6 separate regions of the Homo sapiens genome follow, and all the other regions are linked to region 5. The links are contacts of gene promoters, found by promoter capture Hi-C in blood cells and fetal thymus (Javierre and others, 2016). All regions are on one chromosome and are shown on one strand. The core of a region is centred on a gene start or on the middle of the fragment in contact, and the rest is flanking DNA. Distances in the headings are between cores, read along the strand shown.

The links. The method cuts DNA at HindIII sites, captures the fragments that hold promoters and counts their contacts. A CHiCAGO score of 5 or more calls a contact.
Region 1: a fragment that was not itself captured here is called in contact with the fragment with the promoter of KCNMA1 in region 5 in 2 of 17 cell types (endothelial precursors and M0 macrophages); the score reaches 6.2 in endothelial precursors.
Region 2: a fragment that was not itself captured here is called in contact with the fragment with the promoter of KCNMA1 in region 5 in 17 of 17 cell types (naive CD8 T cells, total CD8 T cells, endothelial precursors and 14 more); the score reaches 29.2 in naive CD8 T cells.
Region 3: a fragment that was not itself captured here is called in contact with the fragment with the promoter of KCNMA1 in region 5 in 11 of 17 cell types (naive CD8 T cells, neutrophils, total CD8 T cells and 8 more); the score reaches 13.9 in naive CD8 T cells.
Region 4: a contact is called between a fragment that was not itself captured here and the fragment with the promoter of KCNMA1 in region 5, in 3 of 17 cell types (total CD8 T cells, M1 macrophages and M0 macrophages). The highest score is 6.4, in total CD8 T cells.
Region 6: a contact is called between a fragment that was not itself captured here and the fragment with the promoter of KCNMA1 in region 5, in 11 of 17 cell types (endothelial precursors, total B cells, naive CD8 T cells and 8 more). The highest score is 13.0, in endothelial precursors.

Annotation. Positions count from the first base shown.
Region 1 is chr10:77,370,340-77,373,039 of GRCh38, forward strand. All of the region lies in intron 2 of KCNMA1 (potassium calcium-activated channel subfamily M alpha 1), which reads right to left. It overlaps KCNMA1-AS3 (KCNMA1 antisense RNA 3), which reads left to right. Exons shown (of 6, transcript NR_126365.1): 4 at 2,508-2,608. Among named protein-coding and RNA genes, the nearest start is that of KCNMA1-AS3, 21 kb to the left of the region's middle. The HindIII fragment of the contact is 6,218 bases long and covers 1-2,700 here.
Region 2 is chr10:77,188,929-77,191,628 of GRCh38, forward strand. All of the region lies in intron 3 of KCNMA1 (potassium calcium-activated channel subfamily M alpha 1), which reads right to left. Among named protein-coding and RNA genes, the nearest start is that of KCNMA1-AS2, 49 kb to the left of the region's middle. The HindIII fragment of the contact is 1,549 bases long and covers 514-2,062 here.
Region 3 is chr10:77,209,083-77,211,782 of GRCh38, forward strand. All of the region lies in intron 3 of KCNMA1 (potassium calcium-activated channel subfamily M alpha 1), which reads right to left. Among named protein-coding and RNA genes, the nearest start is that of KCNMA1-AS2, 70 kb to the left of the region's middle. The HindIII fragment of the contact is 8,406 bases long and covers 1-2,700 here.
Region 4 is chr10:77,318,817-77,321,516 of GRCh38, forward strand. The region is part of intron 2 of KCNMA1 (potassium calcium-activated channel subfamily M alpha 1); the gene reads right to left. Among named protein-coding and RNA genes, the nearest start is that of KCNMA1-AS3, 31 kb to the right of the region's middle. The HindIII fragment of the contact is 3,327 bases long and covers 1-2,700 here.
Region 5 is chr10:77,636,548-77,639,247 of GRCh38, forward strand. It overlaps KCNMA1 (potassium calcium-activated channel subfamily M alpha 1), which reads right to left and starts at 1,261. Exons shown (of 28, transcript NM_001161352.2): 1 at 718-1,261. The coding sequence starts at 1,095. The HindIII fragment of the contact is 4,792 bases long and covers 1-2,700 here.
Region 6 is chr10:77,274,753-77,277,452 of GRCh38, forward strand. All of the region lies in intron 2 of KCNMA1 (potassium calcium-activated channel subfamily M alpha 1), which reads right to left. Among named protein-coding and RNA genes, the nearest start is that of KCNMA1-AS3, 75 kb to the right of the region's middle. The HindIII fragment of the contact is 6,121 bases long and covers 1-2,700 here.

The DNA of each region.
Region 1 (2,700 bases), core at 172-2,671, 270 kb before region 5:
GCCTTGGGGACAGCCATGCTGGAATGCCTGATTTTTACATGTCCAAGTACCTATTTCCTACCAAAAAAAAAGCCCTTCCACATATGATAAGAACACATCTTTTCTTGCAGGGCTGTCAAGTTCATTCTAAACACCCCTGCCGCTGCCTGTTTGAGATTGATGCCTCTCCAATCTCTAGCTCTTTGTTTGAAATTAAACATCCAAAGACCTTTAGAATAAAAAAAGTCAACATACAAATGAAATGCATTTCAACATGCATCTCAACTGCAGAACCACAGCATGTTGAGACTGGACCAAGCAAACCCTGAAGAAGTTTCCCCTCTTGCTCCTCTGTGGTAGATGACCTATCCAAGTTCACACAACAGGTAACATGGAGCATGTGGAGAGACTCAGCATAGGCCAGTGCAGTAGCGGGGTCTACTGGAAAAGACTTGGCCTTTGAAGTCTCATTCCAATCCCAGCCTTGCATTGACCAACTCTGTGACCTTGACCTTGAAAAAGTAGAGTCACAGTGCCCTCTACTTCACAGGGTTGTTTGGAGAATTACTGAAAATGTGCACAAAATACCTGATACACAGTGGGGCACTCAGCTAACACCAGTCATTCCTGTAATCCAGGTCTCCCAACTTCTAGTCCAGTGCTCTTTGCACAACAACACCATATGAAGACTCTGAGCTATCCAAATAAGTGCACTTGAACCACAGGTTAAATCCCCTTCCTCTCATCAGAAATACAGGCTAGCACCGCCCAGCGTTCTTTAAAGACAGCCAGGAAAACAAACCAAATTCATACTACTTACCCAACACTGAACGAGACACGCTGGCTCCCTTTCCTTTATTTTGTTTCCCTTCTATTTGTCCTGGGTTTGTGGTTCTCGGGCAAGGTGAACTCTGCTCAGTATGATATGTGACCCCTGGCCACAGTTGCATATGGCCCTGCCTCAGTTGCTGCCTGCTCCTTACTTGATTCTCCAGGTCCACACTCCTTTCCTGTGCCATCTTCCCCTGTGGCACCTGTGTGTAGGAATCTTCAACAGCTGCACCGCCAACAGAGAAGCCACAAGCTGGAGCCCCACAAGTTTCCCCCCAGGCCCCATGCATGGGTCAGCAGTCTTGACCCCTGGGCTGATTTTAATATTTTAATTAAATTGACAACATGTAAAAAATCTGGAGATTTCACAACAATGCAGATTTCTGACTTCTTTTGACAAATTACAAACTGGCCAAATGTCCACAGCTGGCCAGAGCTGTGAGGCAGCTGCTCCCTTCATCTGGAAAGACTCTTGCTCCACTGGTCAAAGTCCCCACCGGTCCCCTCATTGCAACCTCACCATTCCCTATCAACCTCTGAGTTTTCCACCCCTGTTATGATATGCACTTCCAGTTCTCCAGCTGGACACTCAAGATGTGTCACCACATGGCCCACTGCACTTATTCAATCTCTTCTCCTGGGAACCCTGGAAAATCTCTCTGCTTCTAGGCTCTGCTGGGAGCAATTCCCCTCCTACAATGTCCTCCTTGCTCTTTTATTTATCCAACCCAATCAAGAGTATCTCTGCTTAAAAAATTCTTGCTGACCACCCAAGCCACAAAGAGCTCTCCTTTCCTTAAAGCATGGAGTCAACAGTTATCTTACCTACCTTCACATAGTTGGTTCTTCCTGTTTGCACATCCTGTTTCCCTAGCTAAATTGTAAACTTCTTGAGTTCACATTTGTTTGCCTTCCCCAGAAGGCAGCCACAGACTTTCCAAAGGGAAAGTTCTGAACAAAGATTAATTGTTTGGTCAGGAGCTATCAACCATATCATCACTCAGTGCAAGACCAGTCTCTCCAGCCTCTTTTGCCTCCACTCCACTTCCCTTGTTCCCCTCTCAAATCCACCCAAACCCCCATCCTCCTGGAATCACTCCAAAAGGACTAGAATTTGTTTCCTGTTTTGCCCACGATTGTTCCCATCGCTGCCACTCCCCAGGGCTAAACACAGAACCTGCCACATAACAAAAGCTCAGCATATGCACATTAAATGGAAAGTGCCTTACTTTTTAGTCCCTATATCTTAACATCTGCAGTTCACCAGGCTGACCATGCCCTTCTCCCTTTTCACCAACAGATCTACGGGTCTTGGAAATCCCAGTTCAGTGTTCCTCTCTCAATCTTTTTCTCTTCCTTTACTCAGCCAAGTCACTCCTCTCTCTAGGCGCCGCAGTCCTTTGCTCTTGCCTGCCACAGCCATTGCCAAATGTTGGTGCAATTGTTTGCCCACACCTGTTTTTCCCTTGGATGCCAAGGTCTTCCGGATCCAGGATTGTGTGATCTTCTTCCATGCGCTTGCCTGGTTCCCCAAGTCATAACTGGACATAATTAGTCTGGTGGAGAAGGCAAGTATTATGGCCCTCATTTTTCCAATGAGAAAATGGAAGCAAGGCACCAGGCTCCCTGCATGCAGCAGAGAGATGGAAGAGGAAGAGAGGAGCAGCTTGGGTGAGAAGACTTGGTTCTATTAGCAGGGGTCAAGCAATGGAATGGAAATGTGTCATGTCCTTTCAAGGTCATCTGTGGAGCAATGTTTAACAGCCTGCCCAAGAAATATTTAATTACCTAGAGGAAAGTAAGTACCTTTGTTGACTTGATATTTGCTACCAACTAAATAGCCAGATTATGTGAAGTTACACATTAATGTGTAGGATTTTGCCTAGTAGA
Region 2 (2,700 bases), core at 38-2,537, 450 kb before region 5:
CTCCTCACAGCCTCTAAACTTCCCTGGGTTTCCTGCAGTCTGTTTTCCCACCTCCCTGAGTCTGGCTGCCGAACCCTGTGAAGCTACTTCTCCAGGGTAGTGGTTCTCAAACTTTGGCATGCAGTTGGAGGGCTTGTTAAAATCTTGCTGGGCTCCATCCCCAGTTTCTGATTTAGTAGGTTTGGGGTGGGGGCCCTAGATTTTGCATTTCTTACAGTTTCCCAGATAATGGGGATGCTGCTTATCTGGGAACACCGCTTTGAGACCTGCCACTCCCAAAAAACCTTTCTTGCAACTACACACTAATTATAGGTGTTGCTGCTCGAGAAGCTTCCCATTCAGACCTGAACAGAGATGATTCAGTGTTTGAGCCAGCCCCCAGATAACCAGCTGCCTACCACTTAGCTAATTGCTGGGATCAAGGGGTTGAACAGACATTTTCTGTTTCAGATGCGAACAAGGGGGTGAAAAAATTAAAAAGATACAGGGAAGCAATTGCAATGCCACTGTGCAAGCTTCACCAGTGGACGTTCCAATTAACAATCAGAGAGTACCTGCTGAGCACATTTTAGATTAAGATTAAAAGGAAAAATGATGAAGTACAGATGGGGAGGGGTTACGGAGACCATCATTTACAAGGGATAAAGAAATGGTAAGTAGCTTAAGAATGACAACAACAATAACACACACCCAAGATGATTTACTAGGGACGGGACTGGCTGAGGAACAAGATATCATTTTGTGAAATAATTTCCAACGTTCAAATTCTCCTCACTCTTGTGGCTAGTCCCTTTCTAAATTGAATGGGGCCCTCTCAATTCCCACCAGGATTATGGACAGGCAGAGTTCAGGCCCACAGCACCACAGACATGAGTCAATGCAATAAGCCTAATGATTCTAGACTCTTTTCCTAGTCTCACCTCTGCAATGTTGCCAAATTAATTTAATTAAAAATGTCATTCATCCACCATCACGGTCCCTGCCTGTTTCATATAGTAACTCTAAGCCTGGCTAGGAAGAATTTCTAAAACCTAAACTCATTCTACATCTCTTACTTTATTTTCTACTATGTTTCAGTCCAAACCCTTGCCTTCATTATTTCATGAATGTGACCCATGTATTCCCTAATTTTAAATCTATGCCTTCTCTGTGGCCTCTTCAACTGCTGATTACTCTTTGTGTTCAAACCTTGGGCAGTCTTCGAGGCCAACCTCCAGGCTTGATTCAGCAAACTACTTGTGCCCTCATTGACCTCTCCCATCTCTGAATTCCCATGCTACTGGGAGGAAAAAAATTCTAAACTGCCTCATTATGTTCATATTCAATTATTCTTCAATTCAATGTAATAATACCTGACAATTGTATAAAATTTACATATGCTATTGCATTTGGTCCTCACAAAATGGCAGAATAAAGTAGATATTGTACTATAATCCCCATTTTACAGACAGAGAAGCAGAGGCTCAGATATCCAATCAAGACCCTGCAGCTATGTGGTAGAGTTAGGATAGAGACCCACTAGCCTTGTGCCATACCACTTCCTCTCCAGATGGAGTGCAGCCTTCTTGGAGAGGAAGAGGAAGCATAAGACATAGTGTCTGCTATCTACAGAGCCTCGCCTGGGGCTCATGCAAAAATGATGGGGGTTGACTGATTCATAAATCCTTCATAGAGGAGGACAAACTGCCCTAGAAAATAACTGATGTGTCTGTTGGGTGGTCTAGGAAAATGCAGAGGAAGCAGATGTATTCAACCTGTACCTAACCCTAACCCTGCTCTGTAGAGACTGTCATGTGGGACACTAATAATCCCCAGAAGTCCTCTCTGGGACCCCGTGTGGGGTGGTGGTATCAGGAAGACTGATCCCATCGGCTGAGGGGAAGTTCTTCTGCTTATAGAGGGATAACTCCTAGTTATCCAACTGATTAAAGATGAATGACCCTTCAAGTGGCCCAATTTTCCCTCACCCTCTCCTATTCTAGGAGAACAAGGATGAAGATAATGAAAGCTGATAATACTTAGACACTCTGAAGACTCTTAATTATGAACTAGATGATTAATAAGCTTTGCATCCCATTTGATCCAATCAAAATAAATAAAAAAGATGATATCATATGGATATGGATTTTTATGGAATCTATCTATAACCAAGAGAGTAGGTCTAAGTGATTTGAAGCTTTCCTGGCTACCTCTGGATATCCTGGATAAACTGCCTACACTGGAATAAAAGCATCTAGCCAGCCAGAATATTATGAGACAGACTAATTTTAAAAGGAGGCAAGTCTTTGCAATGTACTTCAAATTAGAAACTGATATTATTATTCATAAAATTTAAGATCACAGAAAAATATTTTGTGAGCTAATAACAATAATGGATTTAGTGTGAATGACATGATATGAATTCATCATTGAGAAAGCAATAATATTTATATAGAACATTTTCTCCTGAACTTGGGACAACACCCCAAGACTGCCCTGAACCTGACGGGATCCAAGCTGAAAGCTTTGTATTCTTTTGGTTTTCTTCATGCTGCCATTTTACTTATCTTATCAGAGCTGTGTACCTAAGAGTTTATCTTTCTAATATCGATTCTTCTCATGTTTACACTGGACGGGGCATGTGTGTTCAATAAGTTGTGTAGTTTTTAGTTTTACCAAACAGAATAAAGCCTCTTCACTTTATCCCAGACATCATGGAAT
Region 3 (2,700 bases), core at 9-2,508, 430 kb before region 5:
CCACAGAGCTGTCTCTTCGCCTCTCCTCTCTAGAAGCTCTGGGTTAGTCCTTTCTCCAGGCACAGAGGCAGCTGAGTGAACTCAGCCTAGGGGAGCTATCACTGTTCTTTTCTTACCTCTAGGAGTTACAACAGAGAAAACCTGTTCTCCAGAAAAAGACCACCCTCTACAATGTCTTCATAGGAAAAAAAATGGTCACACCTGTGACACAGCCCTAATTGAATTCTTATAGGCACCTCAGATCAAAGCTACCCAATAACCTGAGGTAATGGAAAAGAAAAACAATAGAGTATGACATTTATTCATGTACCAAATTCTTGGTTTCTCACCTATTAATTTTTGGTCTTGCAAATTTTGCTGGAACAGAACATGATAGAGTACTGGCTCTGAAGTTCTAGGTTCAGATAACAAACTCAAAAGGGGTTTAGGAAACTAATCCAAGGGAGAATCATAAATTTGAACCTTAACATGGACTCTGTTCTCCACATTAAAATATATTGTACTACCTTTTTTCATATAACATATCAAAGAAACCAAGAGTTGGCTCTTCGAAAGAATATACAAGAATGCTAGACAGCTGGCCAGATTAACAAAAAAAGAAGATTCAAATAAGTGCAATCAGAAATGACACAGATGACATTACAACTGATCCCACAGAATTACAAAAGATTCTCGAAGACTATTATGAATACCTCTATGCACATAAATTAGGAAATCTAGAGGAGATAGATAAATTCCTGGAAACACACAACCTCCCAAGATTGAACCAGGAAGAAAGTGAAAACCTGAACAGACCAATAACAAGCTCTGAAATGGAATCAGTAATTTAAAAAAAACCTACCAACCAAAAAAAAAAAAAAAAGTCCTGGACCAGATGGGTTCACAACCAAATTCTACCAGATGTGCAAGGAACTGGTACCAATCCTACTGCAACTATGCCAAAACACTGAGGAGGAAGGGCTCCTCCCTGATGCATTCTATGAAGCCAGCATCATCTTTATACCAGAAGATGGCAGAGACACAACAAAAAAAGAAAAACATTAGGCCAATATCCCTGATGAACATAGATGCAAAAATCCTCAATAAAATACTGGCAAATCAAATCCAGTGGCACATCAAAAAGTTAATTCACCACAAACCAAGTAGGCTTTATCCCTGGGATGCAAGGTTGGTTCAGTATATGCAAATCAATAAATGCGATTAGCATTATAAACAGAATTAAAAGCAAAAACACATGATCATCTCAATAGCCTCAGAAAAAGATTTTGATTAAATCTAACATCCCTTCATGATAGAAACTCTGAAAAGAGTAAGCATCAAAGGAACATACCTCAAAATAATAAAAACCATCTATGACAAACCCACAACCAACATTATACTGAATGGGCAAAGCTACAAGCATTCCCCTTGAGAAGAGGAACAAAGCAAAGACTCCCGCTCTCATTACTCCTATTCAATATGGCATTGCAAGTCCTAGCCTGAGCAACCAGGCAAGAGAAAGAAAGAAAAGGCAACCAAATAGGAAAAGAAGAAGTCAAACTACCTCTCTTCACTGATAATATTACTCTTTACTTAGAAAACCCTAAAGATTCTTATAAAAGGCTGTTATAACTGATCAATGATTTTAGCAAGGTTTCAGAATACAAAATCAATGTACAAAAATCAGTAGCATTTCTACACACCAACAACATCCATGCTGAGAGTCAAATCAAGAACACAGTCCCATTGACAATAGCCACACAGAAAATAAAATACCTAGGAGCACAGCTAAAAAAGGAAGTGAAAGATCTCTATGTGGAGAACTACAAAACACTGCTGAAAGAAGTCAGAGACAACACAAATAAATGGAAAAACATTTCATGCTCATGGATAGGAAGACTGAATATTGTTAAAATGGCCATACTACCTAAAGCAATTTACAGATTCAACACTATTCCTATCAAACTACCAATAACATTCTTCACAGAATTAGAAAAAACTATTCTAAAGTTCATATGACTCCATAAAAGAGCCTGAGTGGCCAAAGCAATTCTAAACAACAAAAACAAAAACAAAAAAACAAAGCTGGAGGCATCAAACTACCAACAAAGCTGGAGGCATCAAACTACCTGACTTCAAATATACTATAAGGCTACAGTAACCAAAACAGCATGGTATTGGTAAAAAAAACAGACATATAGATCAGTGGGACTGAACAGAGAACACAGAAATAAAGCCGCACATCTAGAGCCATCTGATTTTCAACAAGGCTGACAAAAACAAGCAGTGGGGAAGGGACTCTCTATTAAATAAATGGTGTGGGTATAACTGGCTAACCATACGTAGAAGAATGAAACTGGACTCTTACCTTTCACCATGTACAAAAATTAACTCAAAATGGATTAAAGATTTAAATAGAAGACCTCAAACTATAAAATCTTTGAAGAAAACCTAGGAAATACCCATCTCAACATCAGCCTTGGCAAAGAATTTTTTACTAAGTTCCTAAAAGCAACTATAACAAAAACAAAAATTGACAAGTGGGACCTAATTAAACTAAAGAGCTTTTGCACAGCAAAAGAAACTATCAACAAAGTAAAAAGACAACCTATAGAATGGGAGAAAATATTCGCAAACTATGCATCTGACAAAGGTCTAATAACTAGGATCTATAAGGAACTTAAAAAAATTGACAAGCAAATAATCCCACTAAAAAATGGA
Region 4 (2,700 bases), core at 154-2,653, 320 kb before region 5:
AGTTGGAGACTTCGTTCCTTGGCTTAGAAGTCAAGATTGGATGCAGAACTAGGCAAGTTGCTTTTCTGAGCAAAGAGAGTGCTGGCCCACCCCACATCCTCCCCTGGCTGCTGGCCCGCTGCAAGCCTTGGCACACAAGAGAAGGAGGCAGAAGTGCATTTGTTTATTCATTCACCCACAAACATGCCTCAAGCAATTGAGCACCTACTGAGGCCAGAGTAGTTTTGGGCTCTGCGGAGAACATACATATAAATAAGAAACCATCCTTGACCTTGAGGAATTTATAAGCTAGGAGGAAAAATAACAGGTACATTAACTCAGGTGTCAGCTGTCTCTGGCTTCTCCAGTGCCTAGGCCCATGTATACAGCATCTTGTTTTGCCCTGAATAACTTTCATCCTGAAGGTTACACTTTTTTGAGCTTCTCCCTCTTGTCCCTCATCCCACCCCATCACCACCCCATGCCATTGCTCCAGATACAAGCAAAAAGGAACAACACAGACTGTTGAAGATTTCACAGGTAAGGCAGAAAAGGAATTTAAATCACATATCTCATGGCAAATGCTCTAACAGATTTTGAGTTTGCCTTAGTTCCTTCCAGGCCAAAGCACAACCAAGGATTTCCTTCCCTGACCTTTTCCCACAGAGTTCCTTGAGGTAGAAAGGTGGCTCCAAGAAGCCCAAGTCCTTCACTCGCCCTCCAAAAGCCTCACCTTTTCACTAGAGCAGTCTTCACCCCTTGTAGATGTCATTAAGGATATTCACAAATACTCCTATTACGTCCTCTTTCTGGGCAATTGTAGGATTGCACTTTCTAGTTTCCTAAAGTTAAGTGTGGCTGAGTGCTGAGTGGTTTGCTCTAGCCAATGTAACATGAGCCACATGATGCGTGACACTTCTGGATGGAAGCTCTTAGCCAGAGCAGTTCACCACTGCCTCCTGCCAAGACGGTGCTGGAAGCAAAGACCAAGAGGAAGTTTCCATCAATCTGGTTTGCTGAGTGACTCTGATGAACAGCCTCCACCCTCCTACTGGCCTCCTACCTTCATGACTGATATATACTGTATTGAGCAAGAAATAAACCTTTCTTGTGTTATGCCACTGTGGGGGCTGTCTGTTACTGTAGCAGAGCATGGCCTCACTTGACTGATACTGCCCTCTTCGAAGCAGAACAATTCTGCTTTGCTCTGACCTACAGTCAGACTTTCACACTAAACCAAGGTGGGCACTCACCAAACAAAAGATTCTCCAGGTAACACAATCTACACTCTGTGGATGGAAAGTTATGGCATCTTTTGATGGTGGAGCATTTTCCTTGAGGTCTTACCCCTTACTCCATGAGACTCATCAACATATTTTTTCTAAACAAAATGGTGGAGAAGAATTCTGGGGAAAGAATTCTGGGGAAAGAGTGTCTGGCACAAAAGAAATATGCTCTGGGAAGTGCATGAAAAAGGTAAGTGTCAAAACAGTGGAGACACAGGAAATAGTAGCATTAATTTGGACATAAGATGTCTTCAAGAAGAAAGTGAAGTCCCCCAAACTTTCATGCAGGTTTCTCTGCAAGGAAGGAAGGGGCTACTCCCCTAAGAACCTAATTGGAATGTGGCTCTGGGTGCCAAAGCTGAGGCTGAGACCCTAGGCACACTCAAAGAAGGAAGAGGGAGCTTCTGTGGCTCTCGGTGCTCTGCTTCTCTGGGTCAAACCCTTCTTGCCACACAGGTGTGGGAGCCTGAGCAGGCCAGTCCACTCCTGCCCTCCTTTCAGCCCACTCCCTGGGCCAGGATGCACACAGGTATGTATTCCCCAATTTGAGCCCTGCCTCACTTCTTCCTCGTTGTTACCTGCCAGCACCACCACACTTGAGAACAGCAGACACATTGAACTAAATATGATATGATGTAACTCTAGCCTAGGAGTTACAGAAAAAAACCCAAGCACATTTCTAAAATATTCGAGAATCCTGTGTTGAATGTTAAAGAAACCAACCACATAGGATCTTTATAACACACCAAGGCAGGCACTCACGGCCTGTCCTGAACAAATCCAAATCTTTTATCCCTGGAACCTACGTCATTGTCCACCTCCAGGAATCTGTGCTGTTGAGCTGACGGCTCCTCCACTACAATGTTCTGCTCATTCAAGACTCTGTCCTCAGTGGTTCATCTCCCTCATTCACATCCCCCATCAAAATATGTCTGACTTGTATCCTATTCTTTCAGGGCCTTTCTAAGAAAATTCCAAATGTACTCTAGCAGCTTAATATTTTGCCTTCCCTAGGCAAGATGTTTATATTTAATCAAACAACTTCTGGGAATGATGTATGTTTAGTGTAAAGATATGCATTACTCAGAGTGGAAATTTTCAGTATGCAACAGATCATAATGGACAGAAGGCTCTTTGTGGAGTCCGTGGCTTCACCCTACATGCCATTCTATAATATATACCACATGTGCCAAATAAATCCCCTAAATACAGCTCCAAAAATAACATATCAGTATCCATTCTCAAGTAAGCGACTTCTGCCATACCCAGAGGAGAAAGCATCAGATTAGGTAACTCTGCTTAGTGGTAACATTCTCTAAAGATGAAAGCACTTTTCCCACTGACAGAAGCATGGCTCCAAGAAGCCCAAGTCCTGAGGATATTGTCAGTAAAACCACACACACAGGTCACAGCTTGTTATTAATCAATTAATTCT
Region 5 (2,700 bases), core at 11-2,510:
GGGGTATGTTCCACTAGAGCACCTAAGGGACGGAGTGGGAGGTTACATCAGATATGCGACCTCGACACATTCCAAAAGTGGCAGCCCCGTGGGCTACCCCCAATAGTGGGATGGATCTCCCCAACTTCTCTCGCCCCTCGAAGTCCCCCTGTTATCTCGGGCCATGCTCCTCCCCCGGGATTCCCTTGTGCAAAATTATTCTCTCCCTTGCCCAAAGGATTTTTCCCTTCTTTCTGACCCCACGAACTCATCTCCCCAACAGGTTCCTAAAGTATGGGCGGATGTGCTCCCTCTCGCCCACCGCCAGGAGCCGAGCCCCGGCAGGTGAGCGGTGCAAAACACGCACCCAGCTGCCCCCAGCTTCCTCCGTCCCCGCTGAGTTGGCTGTCCCCACCCCGCACCACGGCACCCGAGCCTGTGAGTCCCCGACCCCGGCCCCAGCCGCAGCCGCCAACAACCCTACAATAAACAAGAGGACAGGATTGAGCGTCCGCGTCCCGGAGCGCACTGGCTGGGGGCAACTCCTCACCCCCGGCGCGCCGCCCGCTGCCCCGATCCGAGAGCACCGGGAGAGCCGAGGGAAGGGAAGGCGGCGAGGGGAAGGCAGGCGGGGATGGAGGGAGGCACGGCGCGGCGCGGAGCGAGGAGGTGGGCTGCAGGGGACGCCGAGAAGCGGTGGGGCTGGCGCAGAGGGCGGGCGCCCGGGGCGCGCGTTACCTTCGTCTTGCCCCCGCAGTGGCAGCACACGGTCCACAGGTACTTGAGCGTCCGCCAGAGCAAGATGATGAAGAGGCCCCCGAAGAAAGTCACCATGGAGGAGGCCAGGAAAGCCCACCACATGCGTTGGCCCCGGCTGTCGCACGGCACCTCCATGGTCACCGGGATGATGAGCGCATCCATCTTGGGCTCGTGGACCGAGGACGAGGAGGAAGAGGAGGAGGAAGAAGAAGAAGAGGAAGAGGAGGAGGAGGAGGAGGAGGACGCGTCTAGGCTGAGATGGTTCGCGTGGATATTGCTACTCATTCTAAGACTGCTGCCTCCGCCGCCGCCGCCGCCGCCGCTGCTGCCGCCGCCGCCGCCGCCACCATTTGCCATAGCTAGCAACGGGCAGCCGGCGCAGGGGCTCGGGGGAGCTCCTCCCGCCGCCAGCGCCACCCCAAACACCCATCAACAGCCATATTGCTGCTACTGCTGCCGCCGCCGCCGCCGCCGCGGAGCGCGGGAGGGGGGCGGGGAGGCGCCTGGGCTCGGGGCGCTGTGCGCGACCTGGCGGGGTGCGCCGAGATATATACAGCGAGCCGCCGCCGCCCGCCCGGGGGGGAGGGGGATGGAGTGCGCGGGCAGCTCCCCCTCCCCGGCCCGCGCCCCGCTCGCCCCGGGCTGCGCTGGCCCCGAGCGCCGAGAGCCAGGGGGCGCCGCGGGCCGCCCGCGCCCGGGGTCTGCGCCGCCCCCGGGCCCGCCCCGGCTCCGCGCGCGGTCCCGGGTGTCCTCGGCGCCGCGCCGCCCGCCGTGCGCCACGGGTGTGCGCTGCGCTCGGCCGGTGACCCCCTTCCCCGAGCGCCTCCCGCGCGGCTAACGAGCCGCTCTCCGCTTATTAGGTGGTAACTCGTTAATAATGGATAATCGGCCCCCTCCGCCCGGGCGCCCCTGCGCCAGCCCTCCTCCCCCGGCTGCGCTCGGCTCCGGCTCGCCGCGCCAGTGCGCGCCCGGCCGCGGCAGGTTCACCGCGTCCGGCCGCCGGCCCGTGGCCGCCTGCTAGCCCATGTTCTCGGGACCCCCTAGTCCTGTCGCCACGCCGCTGAGCCCCTCGGCCTCCGCTCGCTCTTCCTCCTTGCCGCCTCCGACTCCTCCTCGTCCCCGTCCTCGCCGCCCAAGCCTCTTCGGCGCGCGCCCCGCGCTCCCCGCAGCCGCCAGCAGCAGCAGCTGCAGCAACTGGAGCGGGCGCGGACTCAGGACGACCCAGGCGGGAGGGGAGGAGGCTCGCCGCGCTGGCTCGCCTGGGCTCCGGGCTGGGCAGGGGTGGGCAGGGCCCCTCGGCAGCGGCCCGGCAAGCGCCCCTGACCCCCAGGGCGCAAGGTAGAGCGCCCCCAGCCCAGGCGCGGGGCCAGGCGCCTCTCTCCAAGGTGCTGCGCCCCCAGCCGAGAGCGGTGGGGTACACTGGGAGGACGGCGGGGCGCCCCGGTCAGGCCGTTTTTTTCCCCAAAGAGCCCCCAGTGGGGAGGGGAGGAGTGGCCAGCTGTCAACTGGATTCCACAGGCTGAGCTCCCCAGGACCCTCGGGCTTCGGGAGTGAGGAGGACCCCACGCCAGGATACACACAGCTACCCACCCCTACTTCGCTCTTCCTGCTACCTATGTGCCCAGGGTCCCGCGTGTGGCTGGAGGGTAGAGTCAGGAAGGCCAGCGGGTGGTCTGTGGCCTCTGACAGCAGCAGGTGGTTTCTCTCCTTTTTCCTTATTAGCAACAGAGGCTGCCCAACAAAGAGTAGGCAGAAATGATCAAGGACGACCTGGCCTGGGGATAGTGCAGGCCCCGATAGACAATAGAGTTCCCTGAAGGGTTGCTTTCCTCTCATATAGTCTCAGACTCCATCCATCCCGTGAGGAGGGCAGATGGGGGAAGAGGGACTCCAGACTTCATTCTGGCTCACCGTTCCCCATTTAGGGTCTTCCCTTCTCCCCACTTAAGATGAAGAAGGAGT
Region 6 (2,700 bases), core at 64-2,563, 360 kb before region 5:
ATGTAGGTGATTAATAACTATCGATTGTCAGAGGAAATGGAGTAAGTTTGGTCGGTTAGCCAACTGCCATGGGTTTTCTTTCTATTGGATGGTAAACCTCACTGCCGCAGAAGCCATCTCATGGTGAGTTTTGTGGGGAGAGAAACTGAGAAGGGAAGTGATGAAGACCGAGATGGGGCAGCCTTGGCTGGCCATGGTGTCCACCATTCGGGCAGATTGCCTCCTGTTGCCTCCTGCAGCTAACACACAGCCATCACTCATAAAGTCCCAGGCAGATGTGTGCTTTTAGTGCAAAACCTTGGCAATCATTATCTTGAGTGTGGAGGGGCTTTTCTTTTCAGAGTCTCCTTCATGGGCAACTGGATCAACCACACAGAAGGCAGATCCTTCTTATTTGGACAGCTTAGACCTCAGAGAGCCTATACCAACTGAATATTTGTGAGGTAGGATCTGAAAGCACAACCCTGAGCTTCAGGATACTCTTTCTGATGTCTTGACTAGCTCCAGTTTGCCTGGAGGTTTAAAGGAAAATGTACCCAGAAAACCTGGGCTCTTACTCCAGTATCTGTCTAATACAGGAGGAGGAAGCCTTCTCAAAGCCAAAAGAACAGAACACCAAGAGGGGTTCCAAAGATTGGGTTCAAAAAAGTCATTGAATGTTACTTTGAGAAGGAAGCAAGGTCACCTAGTCGTAAGCCTGTATTTTAGAGGAGAAAACTGGGACCCAGAGAGGAATTGACTTGTCCAACGCCCTATTGTGTGTTATGGACAGAAGCAAAATTAGGAGGATGGGTGAAAAAGAAGGAAGTTCCAAAAGCCCACAGGGTCTGCCTTCCATTGCCATAGTCCCAATTGTTGCTCCCCTAGTGAGGGCACAGCTGGCCTAACCACTCACAGGCAAAAGACATAAGACTACAACAGACCCCACAAAACACATGCACATCATCCACTCCTGCAGGAAGTTGTGAGCAGGTTGCCCTGCTCCACCATCACTGCTCAGCAGGAGGTAGAGAGGTAGATGAGAGGAGCACAGGACCTGAGAACCAGGAGAAAAGGATGGCAAGGGAGGCCCAGCCCCAGCCAAGGCCCAGCCCAGTTATGTAATCCACCCTGGGAGGTTATGCCCGCTGCTTTCCATCCACGGATTTTGCAGGATGGGTCTTCACTAGGAAGATGGGGGAAATGTCCCAGAGGGAATCCTCACCAGCCCTGTCCCATGTCAAGTTCTTTATGCCTCTGAACCTTCCTCAAACGGTGTCCCCCCTTCCTTGCCCTTGCCCCACCTCTCCACATTCACAGGGCATCTTAATTCCCTAAGCTGAGTCAACATGAGTACCACAGTCCTCTCCGCTTAACCAGGCTGCTGCATCTCAGAGTGAGCCTCACAGACACGCACAGAATCAGCACCTGCTGGGCATTTTCATGTAATTTGATGATCACCTCTGTAATAAGACTCCTCAGGAGCTGAGACCATCCTTCGTCTACCTTCTAGCATTGTGTCTCCATTGGGCCATTGAGGCCATCTGCTCTGGAAGTTCCTGCAGGGGCCTGCTAACAGGTAGATGCCTAGGCCTAATCCCTGACTTGCAAACTCAGAATCTTGAGCCAGTTCAGGAATAACTGCCTAGAGTGCCTCCCACAGCAAAGGGCATACTGCAGACATCAGGAAACACTCATTGATCACAGAGAGGGGCTTGGCGTCAGGGGACCTAATTTTAACCTTGCTGTGTGGCCCTGCGGAAGTCACTTAACCCTCTGGTATTCAACTTCTTCACCTCTAAAATAAATGTCAGACATTTGTGGATCATGGATGTGAAGTTACCAACACAGATCCAGGCTCAGCAGGTACTCAATTCGAGATGTCTGTATTATGCGTGAGGTTTGTTCATACACAGATTGACCCAGTAACTACCCTGAACCAGATCCCCAGGGAGTGGGTTTCTAAAGGCTGGGGACTGGGCCTGGCTTGAGAATATACTAATCACACAATATATTTATAATAGCCAAACACACTACATAACCTATCATATTATAAATGAATAATACTATAAAATATTAATAGCAAACAAAATATGGTACATATTTTGTGCCAGGCACTATTCTAAATATTTTACTTATATTTCCCCATTTAATCCCCACAAAAAATTTAGAAGATAGTTCTATTATTATTATCCCCACTTTATAGCTGAGGAAACTGAGGCCCAGGGCTGTTAGGTAATTCTCCCAATGTCCTGTAGCCAGTAAATGACACACAGCGGGGATTCTTCAAACTCCCACACCTTCCTGAGATGTCAGCTGGCTGTGTGGTTCATGCCTTCTCTTCATTGTCTCTGCCCTGAGATGTGCTCAGCAAGTGGTCGTTGCCTTAAGAGAGCTTTGCCTTCCCAGCATGGTTGGGGGAAGCTCTCCCTCCTTCAAGGGAGGAGAAGAAGGGGTGAGGAGCCACTAACAGGGCTCACCTGCAAAGTTTTCAGGACCATACCTCCAGGCCAAACTCTAATGAGAAGGAGCATTCCTGGGCCTCAGCTCCCTGGGGTTCAGACTTGGCCCCTTACCATAAAGAGGTCAACTAATGCAAAATGCAGAGGCTGCACCATGATAGCTTTTCCACGATGGGTCTGGGCCAGGATTGAGGGCACTGTCCAGCAAGCTGATGCATTTTTAAAACTTCCGAATCATTGATACTACCTCCCCAGGGAA